Linked DNA regions of Homo sapiens: regions 2, 3 and 4 are each linked to region 1. Evidence: promoter capture Hi-C in human tissues and cell types (Jung and others, 2019). All regions are on one chromosome and are shown on one strand. Each heading gives the region's core, a stretch centred on a gene start or on the middle of the fragment in contact. The rest is flanking DNA. Distances are from core to core; before and after follow the strand shown.

Evidence for each region. The method cuts DNA at HindIII sites, captures the fragments that hold promoters and counts their contacts. A contact is called where the count stands out against the background at its distance.
Region 2: a contact is called between a fragment that was not itself captured here and the fragment with the promoter of CCL22 in region 1, in 1 of the 25 tissues and cell types used here (lymphoblastoid cells).
Region 3: a fragment that was not itself captured here is called in contact with the fragment with the promoter of CCL22 in region 1 in 1 of the 25 tissues and cell types used here (aorta).
Region 4: a contact is called between the fragment with the promoter of CCDC102A here and the fragment with the promoter of CCL22 in region 1, in 1 of the 25 tissues and cell types used here (lymphoblastoid cells).

Annotation. Positions count from the first base shown.
Region 1 is chr16:57,357,106-57,360,103 of GRCh38, forward strand. It overlaps CCL22 (C-C motif chemokine ligand 22), which reads left to right and starts at 1,678. Exons shown (of 3, transcript NM_002990.5): 1 at 1,678-1,784. The coding sequence starts at 1,712. The HindIII fragment of the contact is 38,120 bases long and covers 1-2,998 here.
Region 2 is chr16:57,179,257-57,182,488 of GRCh38, forward strand. The region is part of intron 1 of PSME3IP1 (proteasome activator subunit 3 interacting protein 1); the gene reads right to left. Among named protein-coding and RNA genes, the nearest start is that of PSME3IP1, 5.2 kb to the right of the region's middle. The HindIII fragment of the contact is 3,333 bases long and covers 1-3,232 here.
Region 3 is chr16:57,196,594-57,200,068 of GRCh38, forward strand. The region is part of intron 1 of RSPRY1 (ring finger and SPRY domain containing 1); the gene reads left to right. Among named protein-coding and RNA genes, the nearest start is that of RSPRY1, 12 kb to the left of the region's middle. The HindIII fragment of the contact is 3,972 bases long and covers 225-3,475 here.
Region 4 is chr16:57,535,174-57,538,223 of GRCh38, forward strand. It overlaps CCDC102A (coiled-coil domain containing 102A), which reads right to left and starts at 1,398. Exons shown (of 9, transcript NM_033212.4): 1 at 1,327-1,398. It also overlaps a transcript of ADGRG5 not described here. RefSeq lists a silencer at 691-1,640. The HindIII fragment of the contact is 34,087 bases long and covers 1-3,050 here.

The DNA of each region.
Region 1 (2,998 bases), core at 428-2,927:
CTCTGTGTGGCTGTGTGAACTGGGCAAGTCCTCTCTCTCTGAACCTCAGTTTCCTCCTTCATTAGATGTGTTCTTTTTTTTCTTTCTTTCTTTCTTTTTTTTTTTTTTTTTTTTTTTGAGATGGACTCTCATTCTCTCACCCAGGCTAGAGTGCAGTGGCGCAATCTTGGCTCACTGCAACCTCTGCCTCTCACCGGATTCAAGCGATTCTCCTGCCTCTCAGCCCCCCAAGTAGCTGGGATTACAGGCGCATGCCATCACACCCGGCCAATTTTTGTATTTTTGGTAGAGATGGGGTTTCTCCATGTTGGCCAGGCTGGTCTTGAACTCCTGACCTCAGGTGATCCACCTGCCTGGGCCTTCCAAAGTGCTGGGATTACAGTCATGAATCACTGCACCCAGCCCATGTGTTCTGAGCACCCAACATGTGCCTGATCCTCAGAGGGCCCTGGGAATGCCAAGAAAAATGAAGGGAGACCCCAGCCTCCTAGAGCTTGGAGTCTGACTTCTAGGGAGGGGCTTGAGAAAGAGAAAACCTGACCCAGTCTGCTCAGGGCCACATTCCAGGTCCCCTAGAAGGCTTTGAAGTCCTGAGAGGGTGTGCTTACCAAGGACATGACATTTCAAACAGCTTTGACGCATAAGTAGGAGTTTATGTGGTAGAGATGTGGAAAGTGACATTAAAGGCCAGGGACAGGCCGCAGTCCCTTTTGAGGAAGTGTGAGGAGTGTGGTGTGATCCCTCAGGGGAAGGAGACCAGTGGGGAAAGGCCTGTCCGGAAACGGGGCCTTGAAGGCCACAGACAGGAGCCCGGGACCTGCCTTTAGGTGAATGGGGAGCCACGGCAGGGTTCTGAAGCAGGAGAGAGAGTGTGTAGCTCTGGACCACTCACGCTGGCTGCTGCAGGGTGGGGATGGCATTGAGGAGGCCAGCATCCCAGCCTGAGGTGGAGGTGGCCTGGACTGGGCAGGAACAGTGGGGTTGGAGAGAAGGAGCAGATCTGAGAGAGATTTAGGAAGCAGAATCAACGGGACATGGACATGGTGAGGGACTGAGACAGGAGTGGGGGAGGGAGAGCCCGGCAGCCACTGGGAAGGAAGATCAGGCAGGACAGAAGTGTGGGTAGATGCTTTCCATAAACCGTTGAGAAATCCACGACCTGGCCCAAATGTGGACTTCACGAGAAGCCCCAGATGGGTCAATGGGTCCATAGGCCTCTCCCATTGAAGAGAGACCAGTAATGCCGTCATTAAGGGTACAAGACAGGCCTCAATTCTAGGTGAGGGTTGGTCCACGTTCTCACTTGATTTACAACCAGTGAAGTCAACAGAGCTGTGAAACCATCTCCCCCATTTCCAGATGGGGAAACCAAGTCCCAGAGACACCCAGACATGGCCAAGGCCACACAGTGCAGAGACCCTGGGGAGCACAAGCCTCTAAGAGGGGGATTTTACAAGTCTGTCTGAAACCAGAGGCGAGGACAGAGTTGAGGGGGGGTCCCCTCTGAGTGGTTCCCCGCCAAAGAGAATTTCTCCACTTTGGAGGAAGTGGGAGGTAGTTCTTCTTTTGAGATGTGAATGTCAAGTGACTCTGGGCACCCCGGTGACTAAGAGGTAAGTAAGTGAGGCTTGTGGGTGGAGCCAGCACCTTAAATAGCAGGTCTTCCTATGTCCCTTTGCAGACACCTGGGCTGAGACATACAGGACAGAGCATGGATCGCCTACAGACTGCACTCCTGGTTGTCCTCGTCCTCCTTGCTGTGGCGCTTCAAGCAACTGAGGCAGGTGAGGCTGGGGAGCAGGAAGACCCCCTACAGAGGCCAGGGCAGACGGTGGGGTGTCTTCCTCATGTCTTGGACAAGCACTGGACCAAGAGCAGAAGACCTCAGTCTGCTGTTGGCTCTTGCGGCCTTCGGCTAGTTGCAGTGCTTCTCTGGGCCTCAGTTTACAAGTCTGTTGAATGGGCAGTCTTGAAGACTTGGAGTCTAGGATCTGTCTCACCTGGGTTGGGGGTTGTGGTGGGCATAGCCTCGGGATCTCCTGCCCCAGAAAACTCAAGCATAGGGCCCTAGGGGTGTGGGTGAGGAGCTTCTAAGGGTCAGGTCTGAGTGGGGGAAGGCAGGGCTGGGGCAAGGGGTTCTCCCTTGGAAAGCTGGTGCTGCCCTCCCACCATCCATTTTTTAAAATGTTATTATTATTATTTTTTATTTTATTTTATTTTATTTTTTGAGACACAGTTTCACTCTTGTTGCCCAGGATGGAGTGCAGTGGGGCAATCTTGGCCCACTGCAACCTCTACCTCCCAGGTTCAAGCGATTCTCCTGCCTCAGCCTCCTGAGTAGCTGGGATTACAGGCATGCACCACCACACCTGGCTAATTTTTGTATTTTTAGTGGAGACAGGGTTTCACCATGTTGGCCAGGCTGGTCTCAAACTCCTGACCTCAGATGATCCTCCCACCTCAGCCTCCCAAAGTGCTGGGATTACAGGCATGAGCCACTGCGTCTAGCCTAAATTTATTTTTTATTTCATTTTATTTATTTATTTTTTGAGATGGAGTCTCTGTTGCCCAGGCTGGAGTGCAGTGGCGCAATCTCAGCTCACTGCAACCTCCACCTCTGGAGTTAAAGTGATTCTCCTGCCTCAGCCTCCTGAGTAGCTGGGATTACAGGCACCTGCCACCATGCCCGGCTAATTTTTGTATTTTTAGTAAAGATGGGGTTTCACCATGCTGACCGGTCTTGTCTCGAACTCCTGACCTCAAGTGAAACTCCCATCTTGGCCTCCCTAAGTGTTAGGATTACAGGCGTGAGCCACTGCTCTGGGCTCACTATCCATTTTTGTCCAGAACCTGTCCTCAGCATGGATTCCTGACTCCTCTTCTCCACCCCACTCTATACTTTTGCTGTGTTGGGTGGAGGAGTGAGCACTGGAGTGGGGTCAGGCAGCTATAAACAAGAATTGCTCCCAGCTGCTGGGCTTTCTGAGTGCTTTTCATG
Region 2 (3,232 bases), core at 365-2,864, 180 kb before region 1:
GAATTCATGGAAAACTAAAACCATTTCAAAATTCACTTTGTCCACCAAACTTAGAGTCCAAATTGGCACAAATAAAGAACGTGGTTTTCAAATCTGCCTGACCGTCAAGAAAACAAAGTTCTTATATTTCAAGCCAAAGTAACTGGTAACACTGAACTACTGGGTTTACATTGGAGACCGTCCCATTTAATTTCCAGGGTGGTGGGACAAAATGGGCTCAGTTCTTACATAGCACACTACACATGTTTTAAAATACAAAACTTACATTGTTGCTCCCCAAATAATTGCTATTCCTAACTTGAAAAATGACTCCATTTAGCTAGTGCCATGACACAAAGTAATGAGATCTGGTTTCCTATGGAATTGAATTATGTGATGGCAAACTACTTGAGTGTTTACATCACTGGCCACCATATCCTTCTAATTCTAAAATTAATTAGATTGTACATGTTAAAACACACCAGAATCAGGTTTCTGTGTTCTGTTGTTTTAAGGCTTCACTTTCAGTAGCAAAAGCAATAGGTCAATCCATTTCCTTTTGTGAGTAAATATAGATTATTGCTTTCCAACATTTTTTACTCTGATGTTCAAGTCACACTGTACTTCAAAATGCAGGACAGCAACTAAGAGGAATTTGCCATCTGGCTAACTCATCTATATTTCAAATAAAGACTTATTTCTGGCCAGAAGGCACTTCTACCAAGATACAGTTATTTAGATTTTTAAAAATTTAGCTGACTTTTCCTATATCATAAAATTTATTTAGAGAACAACAACTACTAACAGAGAGCCCGCTGTTAGTATTTATTACTAGGCAAAGTGAAGTCAATCTTCTAACACCAAAGCTTAATTAACATATTCCGGTAGCAAAGGAGACTAAAAGAATCTAAAAACTAAACCACAGAAAAAGAAATTTAATCCATATTTTAAATGTTTATCATAAGGAGCAATTTGCAATAACCTTTCAGGCATCTATGAAACACATACAATAAAAAATTCAGCTTTGCAATAATCTTTCAGGCATCTATGAAACACATACAATAAGAAATTCAGCCAGGCATGGTGGCTCACACCTGTAATCCTAGCACTTTGGGAGGCTGAGGCAGGAGGATCGCTTGAGGTCAGGAGTTCAAGACCAGCCTGGCCAACAGGGTGAAACCCCATTTCTACTAAAAATACAAAAATTAGCTGGCTGTGGTGACATGTGCCTGTAATGCCAGCTACCTGGGAGGCTGAGGCAGGAGAATCGCTTGAACCCAGGAGGCGAAGGTTGCAGTGAACTGAGATTTCACGCCGCTGCACTCCAGCCTGGGCAATAGAGCAAGACTCCGTCTCAGAAAAAGAAAAAAAAAAAAGAAAAGAAATTAAGGCCTGGTGCACTAGCTCACACCTGCAATCTGAGCACTTTGGGAGGCCAAGGCAGGATTGTTTGAGCCCAGGAGTTCAAGACCTGCCTGGGCAAGATGGTGAGACCCCAACTCTATTAAAAACAAACAAACAAACAAACAGACAAACAGGCTAGGCACAGTGGCTCATGCCTGCAGTCCCAAAGCTGTGGGAGGCCAAGCTGGGAGCATCACTTAAGGCCAGGAATTTAAGACCAGCCTGGGCAACACAGTGAGACTCTCTCTCTACAAAAATATTTAAAAATTAGCCAGGTGTGATGGTGCACTACTTAGGAGGCTGAAGTGGGAGGAAGGCTTCAGCCAAGGAGTTCCAGGCTACAGTGAGCTATGAGGGCCATTGCACTACAGCCTGGGCAACAGCACAAGACCGACCTTGCCTGGCGAGGGGGAAAAAAAAGAAGTTAAAAAAAAAGTATTGATTTATTTATCTTTCCATAGCACAAGGGCAGGGTCTCAAATGTGCATTTATCTTGAATTCACCTATACACACTAGAAGAAAGATAACTAATTTAAATATCGGTTCCCTTAGCTGATCCTCATTCACATGCACCTCTCTGAATATAAATACTTCCCTCACTATGCATGAATGATTGTATTCATTGTATTTTTTACATATTGTGACTCCTAAATACAAACCAACAACTTCATCTGGGGCTCACAGGAAGAAAAACAGCAGTTTTTTCCAAAGCCGAAATAAAACTTGCCTGAGGATATAGAGAAAAAAAAAACCCAAACCAAACCAAAGCATTTTTGCTATTCTCTCACTCAACAATCAACACAGTATAATTCTGTGAGGGATATGTCCCCACACACCAAGCAACCAACCAATTCTGTAGCAGACACCAACCAGCTGGGTGTCCTCTAATTCAGTTCAATTCTGACACTACCTACCTGGATGGAGACCGCGTCAGATCCCATAGGTTGAGGGGTGAGTCCCACAAGACTAGCCTCCATTTTAGATACCAACCACAAGAATCAGGTTGTTTTACCTGTAGTTCTAACCAACTGGCTATTAATCAGGGTTCCCATGACCCCCTCCTTAGGTTCTATTAATTTGCTAGACCAATTCACAGAACTTAGAGGAACTTAGAGGAACACTTTACTTACATATACTGGTTTATTATAAAAGCATATTACAAAGGATACAGATGAAGCAATGCATAGGGCAAGGCATGTGGGAAGGGCACAGAGCTTCCATGCACTCTCTGGGGCACCATCATCCAGGAACCTCTCATGTCCACCTATCCAGAAGCTCCCCAATCCCAGTCTTTTGGATTTTTATGGAAGCTTCATTACTTAGACATGACTAATTAAACCAGTGACGCTGGTGGTCATCAGCTCGTCTGCCTTCTCCTCTCCCCAGAGGTTGGACATTGGTTGAAGGTCCCAACCCTCTAATCCTGCCTGGGTCTTTCAAGTGACCAGCCCCCATGCTAAAGTTACTTAGGGGCTGCCAGCCATCAGTCAGCTCCTTAGCATATAAAAAGACACTAATCATTTTGGAGATTTCAAGGATTATAGGAGTCATATGCCACAGGAGACAGGGATGAAGGCCAAATATGTATTTTACAATATCACACTGGCCATGTCAGAGTTCTGCAACACTGGTATTCCTACAATTAACATGCTGCCTCCCTGAGATTTCAAGGGTAGCTTTGCTTGTAAGCTATTTTGTCATCTAGGCTCGCTTCAGAACCTAACCCACACCTCAAGTCATACTCCATCCTCCCTCCCCCCACCCTATATAACTCCACTTCAAGACCAAATTAAAAACAAAATAAAACAAAAAAACGCAGTCCCAGTTACTCAGGAGGCTGAGACTGGAG
Region 3 (3,475 bases), core at 961-3,460, 160 kb before region 1:
TAATGCCGTCTATGGGATGATCAAGCTACAATCCCTCCCAAGATTCTCTGTCTGAAAATATAGGTAAGTATAGGTTATAGAAAAGTAAAAATTACTTCAGTACGGGGTAGTTCTGTAAAAGATAAATTCTTTACTTTTCTTAGTGCTTTTAACTCAAGTTTTACTCCAGAATCCCTCTCCCCCAGGTAATTTAGTTATTTCTGATTAGATATGTGCTCATTTTGTAACATCTTGCATTTTTTTGATCCAGTTTAAATGTTAGGCACTGTGCCATGCGTATTACATGCATTATTTCATTTAATCCCCACAGTGGTACTGTGAGATAAGAACTGTTACTATGTCTGTTTTTTAACATGTGTCAAGAGTCAGGTTAATTAGGACGTGTATCAGTAAATATTGCAGGGCTGGGACTTTCACCTAGTCTGACAACAGAGTGTGTACTGTGCTATGGTGGCTTCTGGTATTGTGTGTAAAATCTGTAAGCTCAGTTTTATTGTCTTAAAGCAGTGGTCCTTGGAAAGTGGGCCACGTAAAGCTTTTTTTGAATGGATGAAACAAAAAATTGTCTAAAGTGTAATTGATTAGCTTTCACCCAGTCTTTTGCCTGCAGTCCATCACTTCTCTGTAAAAAAAAAATACCATGAATGACAGCCATTTCCAGTTTAAAACCTATAGGTTTTCAGTGCCAGATAAATCTGAAAGATCATCTACTTTGTTCATTTATGTGCCCTGTCTGTGGCTGTAGCCCTCAAGAGTACTCTGTGTAGTCATCTCAGAAAGTATTTAGAGGTAACAGCTCTTGATTTTTCCTTGTACGTTTCATAGGCTTGCCTTTATAAAATGCCTTCCAGCTTCTTCCACCTGATTAACCTCTTCTTTACACTTGGTTTTCACAGATGGTCCTTTTTATTTAAAAAAAAAAAGTCTGGCTTTAAAGTATTTACAGTTTTTTTAAAAGCCTCATTTTCTTCTCTGACAAATTTTATAGTTGACATTTTCTGGGTCATTTAAGGAAAATTGCTCTTTTGGAAGAAACTGACTCAAAACACACTTTAGTTCAATTTGGAAAAAAACTTAATTTTTGTCTTCTTACCTTCGTATTTAGTCAGTTTTTGTTTTTTGTTTTTGTTTTTGTTTTTGTTTTCCCAAAGACAGGGTCTAGCTCTGTCACATAGGCTGGAATGCAATGACACCATTAGGGCTCACTGCAGCCTCGACCTCCCAGGCTCAAGTGATCTTCCCACCTCAACCTCCTGAGTATCTGGGACCACAGGTGTGCACTACCATGCCCAGCTAATTTCTTAATTTTTTCTGTAGAAATGGGGTCTTGCTACATTACCCAAGCTGGTCTCAGCCTCCTGGGCTCAAGCAATCCTCCCAACTCAGCCTCCCAAAGTGCTGGGATTACAGGCATGAGCCACCATGCCCATCCTATCAGATTTAGTCAGATTTTAAAAAAAAATCTGCGTGTATTGGATATCATCCAATCACCTTAAAATTGTACTAAATGGGCCGGGCACGGTGGCTCACACCTGTAATCCCAGCATTTTGGGAGGCCGAGGCAGGCGGATCACGAGGTCAGGAGATCGAGACTATCCTGACTAACACAGTGAAACTCTGTCTCTACTAAAAATACAAAAATTAGCTGGGCGTGGTGGTGGGTGCCTGTAGTCCCAGCTACTCGGGAGGCTGAGGCAGGAGAATGGCATGAACCTGGGAGGCGGAGCTTGCAGTGAGCTGAGATCACGCCACTGCACTCCAGCCTGGGCGACAGAGCAAGACTCCGTCTCAAAAAAAAAAAATTGTACTAAATGGAAATCTGCATAGATTATTCTGTATTCAGTGTATAAAAACCTTAGGAAAAAATGATAAAGTTTAAGAATTTAAGATCCAACAAACCTCTTTTTAACTTCTTTCCTCACAGGCACCCCCAAGATGTTTTCTTCTTAATTATTCCTAAATACTTTTATGTGTTGGCATTAAATTGTAACTTTATAGGCTCCCCTATTCTTTTTGCTTTTTTTTCCCCCTGAAATTACTGAGCAACAAGATTCCTGTTCTCTCCCCTTCAAGGCTTTGTTTTCTGGAACTTGACATTCTCAAATCATTGCCAGTTATTTTTAGTACGTGATTAGTCTCCCTTCCTCAGGTATGTTTTCCCCAATTTGGATTGAATCTACTGTTTGCATCTTGTTTCCCATCCCACCTTCATACAGATTGTATGGAAAGGCTGTGGGGTATTAGAGCAGCCAGTGGAGTTCCCCTCTGCTGTGGCAATGTTGACACCACAGATCATAGTCCTAGGACCCTTACCACTGTGAGGAAGGAGTTTGGAGTTAGCACTTCCCCAGGGGATGACACATTTCCCCAGAAGAGGTCCCATGTCTCTAATCCTGGACTACTCCCTTCTACCATCCCCAAAGTGTTAGTTGGGTTAGCCACAAGTTTTTATAGCATAGTGGTCAAGAAATTATGATAATACAGAGTATGAATTTCTGTACAGCCTTTAAATGCATGAGGTAGTTACATATATACTGATATAGAAGGTTGTGGTATTAAAAAGAGCAAATCATAGAGCAATATTTATGGCTTCATTCTAGTTAGATTTAAAGAAAAAGCGGCTGGGCGCGGCGGTTGATGCCTGTAATCCCAGCACTTTGGTAGGCCGAGGCGGGCGGATCACGAAGTCAAGAGTTTGAGACCAGCCTGACCAACATGGTGAAGATCTGTCTCTACTAAAAATACAAAATTAGCCAGGCATGGTGGCGTGCGCCTGTAATCCCAGCTACTCAGGAGGCTGAGGCAGGAGAATCACTTGAACGTGGGAGGCAGAGGTTGCAGTGAGCCAAGATCGTACCATTGCACTCCAGCCTGGGTGACAGAGTGAGACTCCATCTCAAAAAAAAGAAAAAGCTAGTTTGAAAGTATATAATAATAGATATGGAGGCAAACATATGAAGCTTTTAAGAGGTTAGTTATCTCTGGGAAAGGCATGGGCTAGGTAGAGCAGAAGAGGAACTTTCACATTCCATAGGCCTGTGCAGCATTTAGGTTTTAGAAATGAATGTGTATATTTTAAGGTTTCTAGATAAAGATTTTTTTTTAATAAAATACAATTTCAAGTAAATATTCCAGTGGCACAATCATCTGACCTACTGGCCCAGAGCCAGACCTGTCCAAAAACCTTGAATTGTTTACCTCTTTTCACCTGAAATATTCTAACAGCGCCTTATCAGTGAAATTTCTTTTTTTTTTTTTTCCCACTCCAAACCTCAGTTTACTCATTTTGTTTTTTTTGTTTGTTTTTTTTTTTCTTTTTCTTTTTTTTTTTTTTTATTGATCATTCTTGGGTGTTTCTCGCAGAGGGGGATTTGGCAGGGTCACAGGACAATAGTGGAGGGAAGGTCAGCAGATAAGTGAACAAAGGTCTCTGGTTTTCCTAGGCAGAGGACCCTGCGGCCTTCCACAGTGTTTG
Region 4 (3,050 bases), core at 148-2,647, 180 kb after region 1:
CACAGACTGCGGGCACCTGTCCCTGTGACCTGCTGCCCAGGATCCAGCTGCAGGACCTCTGGGGGGAGCTGGCTGGCGGGAAAGGAAGGGATGGCGGCTAGGCCTCCAGGCTGGACCTAAGCCCAGGGGTAGGCACCCCTGGCCTATTCCCAGGTAGCCCCATCTTAGACTGAGGAGCCACAGAGACAGCCTGGATCATTGATTTGAACTCCTTTCTTTACATATGGACCAACTGAGGCCCAGAGGGACAGCTACGTGTCTGTGTCCACACCGCGGACCAGCAGCAAGGCCAGAGTAGGGAGCTGGTGATGGGATGCCTCCTCTTCTGGATCTTAGCCACCTGAGGGGCACAATGCCCCCGAGAGCACCTACACGATGGGGTCTGCAGGCACCAGGCCAAGTGGATACGCACAGCTGGAATGGTGGGGTGAACCTTCATGGGGACCCAGCCCCACCCCGACCCCAGCCCCACCCCTCTCGGCAACACCGTGAACTCTTCACTCTTGTACAGCAGACATCCCGCTAGTCCCAGCTCCATCACTGATATGCTGTGTGATATCTGCAAGTCCCTGCCCTCTCTGGGCCTCAGTTTCCTTACCTACAGGATGGGGAGAGGCACTAAAAAGATTCCTGAACGCTCTAACAGGTGGGCAGACCTCCCGAACCCAAACCAATCCAACCCCCACAAGAGCCCTGGGAGAGCGGGGGTGGGAAGGTGGACACCACCCCCACCTAAGGTACTGAAACTGAAGCCCCAGCCCTGCGTCGCCTTAGTCCTCACTTAGTCGACCCCTCCCAAGCCGCTGGCCCTGCGAACCGCCCCGCTCCACCTAGCGACGGGCGGAGGGTGGAGGGGGTTCCCGGCCCGCGCCGCGCGGTCCCGCCCACCCCACCGCATGGCCCCCATTGGCAGTCGCCGCGGCTCTGGGCAGGGCGCCGTGCTCTGATTGGCCAGCGCCGCCCGTCCATCCCGCATTCGCCATGGCGACCACGTTGGGTCCCCCGGGAGAGTCCCAAATTCCGTCCCCGCCCGCCGCCCCCTCCCGTCCGGCCCGGGCCGCGGCATTCCGGAGGCGCCTCCCCTCCCCCATCACCCCGCGGCCCCTCCCCACCGGAGACCTGGGGTTCCGGGGGCTGAGGGAGGCCGGGGAGGCGTCTAGAAAGTTCTGCTCTGAGTTCGGGGGTTGCCGCGGGCGCCCCGACTGTGTCTGCTCCTCCAGCACGCCCCACAACTTAACCCCTTCCTTCCCGCGGAAGGCGCGCGGCCTGGAGCAAGTTCCCGGGCCGCCTTGGCCTGCCGCCCCCCGGCCTGCCGCCCCCGCTCACCTCGGGCCGGGACTTGCGGGCTCCGTACGTCCCAGCCGCTGCGGCGGGGTAGAGCGGGCACCGTGCAGCTGCGACCGCCGCCGGAGGGGCCGAGGGAGGGCCGCGGAGTCTCCTCCTCCCTCCCGGGGGGAGGGGAAGCAGGGGGAGCGGCGGGGCCCCCGAAGCGGTCGCAGGCTGCGGCCCCGCTGTGACCCCGGCCCACCGAGCTGCTGGGGTGGGGGCTCCAGCCTAACTTCGGGGCGAGGGGTGCGGGCCGGGGCGGTGGGCTCTGCTGCAGAGCGGGCCGTACCCCAACGGAGGCCCCACCCCCGTGAGGGGCCGAGAGTTGCGGGGGGGCTCGGCTTTCTTGGTTCAGGTTTCCTCAGCGCCAACTACGTACTAGGCGCCCCCAGCAGAAACGGCCACCGCGGGTCCCAGCTCGGCACGTGGAGCGAGCTTACCAAGTCTTCACTGTTGTTACCTGCATTTTTCCCTGGGCCAGCTCTGCCACCGAGTGGAAGTGGGCCAACAAGTCTGTGCCCATCGGGCCTCAGTTTCTCTTTCTGTACAACAGAAGGGTTGACGAAAGCAACCTTGCGCTTGTTAAGAGGTGGGGGGCGCGGGGAGCACTCGGCCCGGCGGGCGGAGACTTTTCTCTGCATTGCGATGGTGGTTGGCAGGCCCTGGGGAATTACGGTACTTCGCCTTCGGGGACGCCCAGCTGTTTTGGGGCTTTCTCTCTATTGGGGGTAGGATGTTTGTGGTCTTGACTGGAAAGCCGGGACAGGCGTCTGGAGGACTCCCCACTACATCCTGTACCCTGGAAGGCCCCCGAGGTGAATCTATTTAAAAGAAGACCAACAATTCACCAAGATGGTGGGGAAAACCTGGCCTGATTGGGATTTTACCTAGAAAAAGAAGCTAAATATTACGAAGATAAATTAGTTTTACCCCGTGATTAACGGAGTTTAGATTATGATTGCAACCACGCACGCCTTAAAATGAACCAAGAATGAATCAGATGTTAACACTGGAAGTCTTGCTTTTTCTTGTAATAGTTGAGTATGTAGCATCCTTCCCTTCTGAACTGGTTTTTGCAGTAAGAGATTCATTTTTGCAAAAATATTTGAGAGCTTCCTCAAACTCAAGGATCACTCTGAATCCTTTGATAGTCCAGTGCCTTTTTTCGGGTCTGGGTCACTTCCCTTGCAGACGTTCCCTTTCTCTGTGGGCAGCGGCTGTTCCATTTCTCCTGCTTTGCTTCCACCAACTTCATGAAATCCCATACGTTGCAAGACTGGCAGTTTCACTTGTCGATTCATTTGCTTTGTATTTGTTATGCGTGGCTGAATGTTGAAAGCGTCTGTTCACCAGCCAGAGATAGATAGGAGATGTATGTGGGGTTTGAGTACTCAGAGGACAAGGGCATCCACATTTTACAGCTGAGGAAATGAAGGCTCAGAGAGGCTCTTGGCTCAGACTTGCACAAGGTCCTACAGCCAGTAACAGCCTTGGATCAAGAGCCCAGAGGTCTTGCCCAGAGTTTTTGGAGGTGGAAATGGGGCTGGGGAAGGTGGTGGAGACTGAGTTGATGGTGCACCTGAACTCCAGCTATAACCTCATCACTATCAGGCCTTCTCTCCTTAGGAAGAAGCAGTAAATATTGTCCTGAGGATGTCTTTTGCAGGGGCTAGGGTGGGGTGACGTGACCCACCCGATCGTAGAACCAAAGTAGGTGCTGGCCA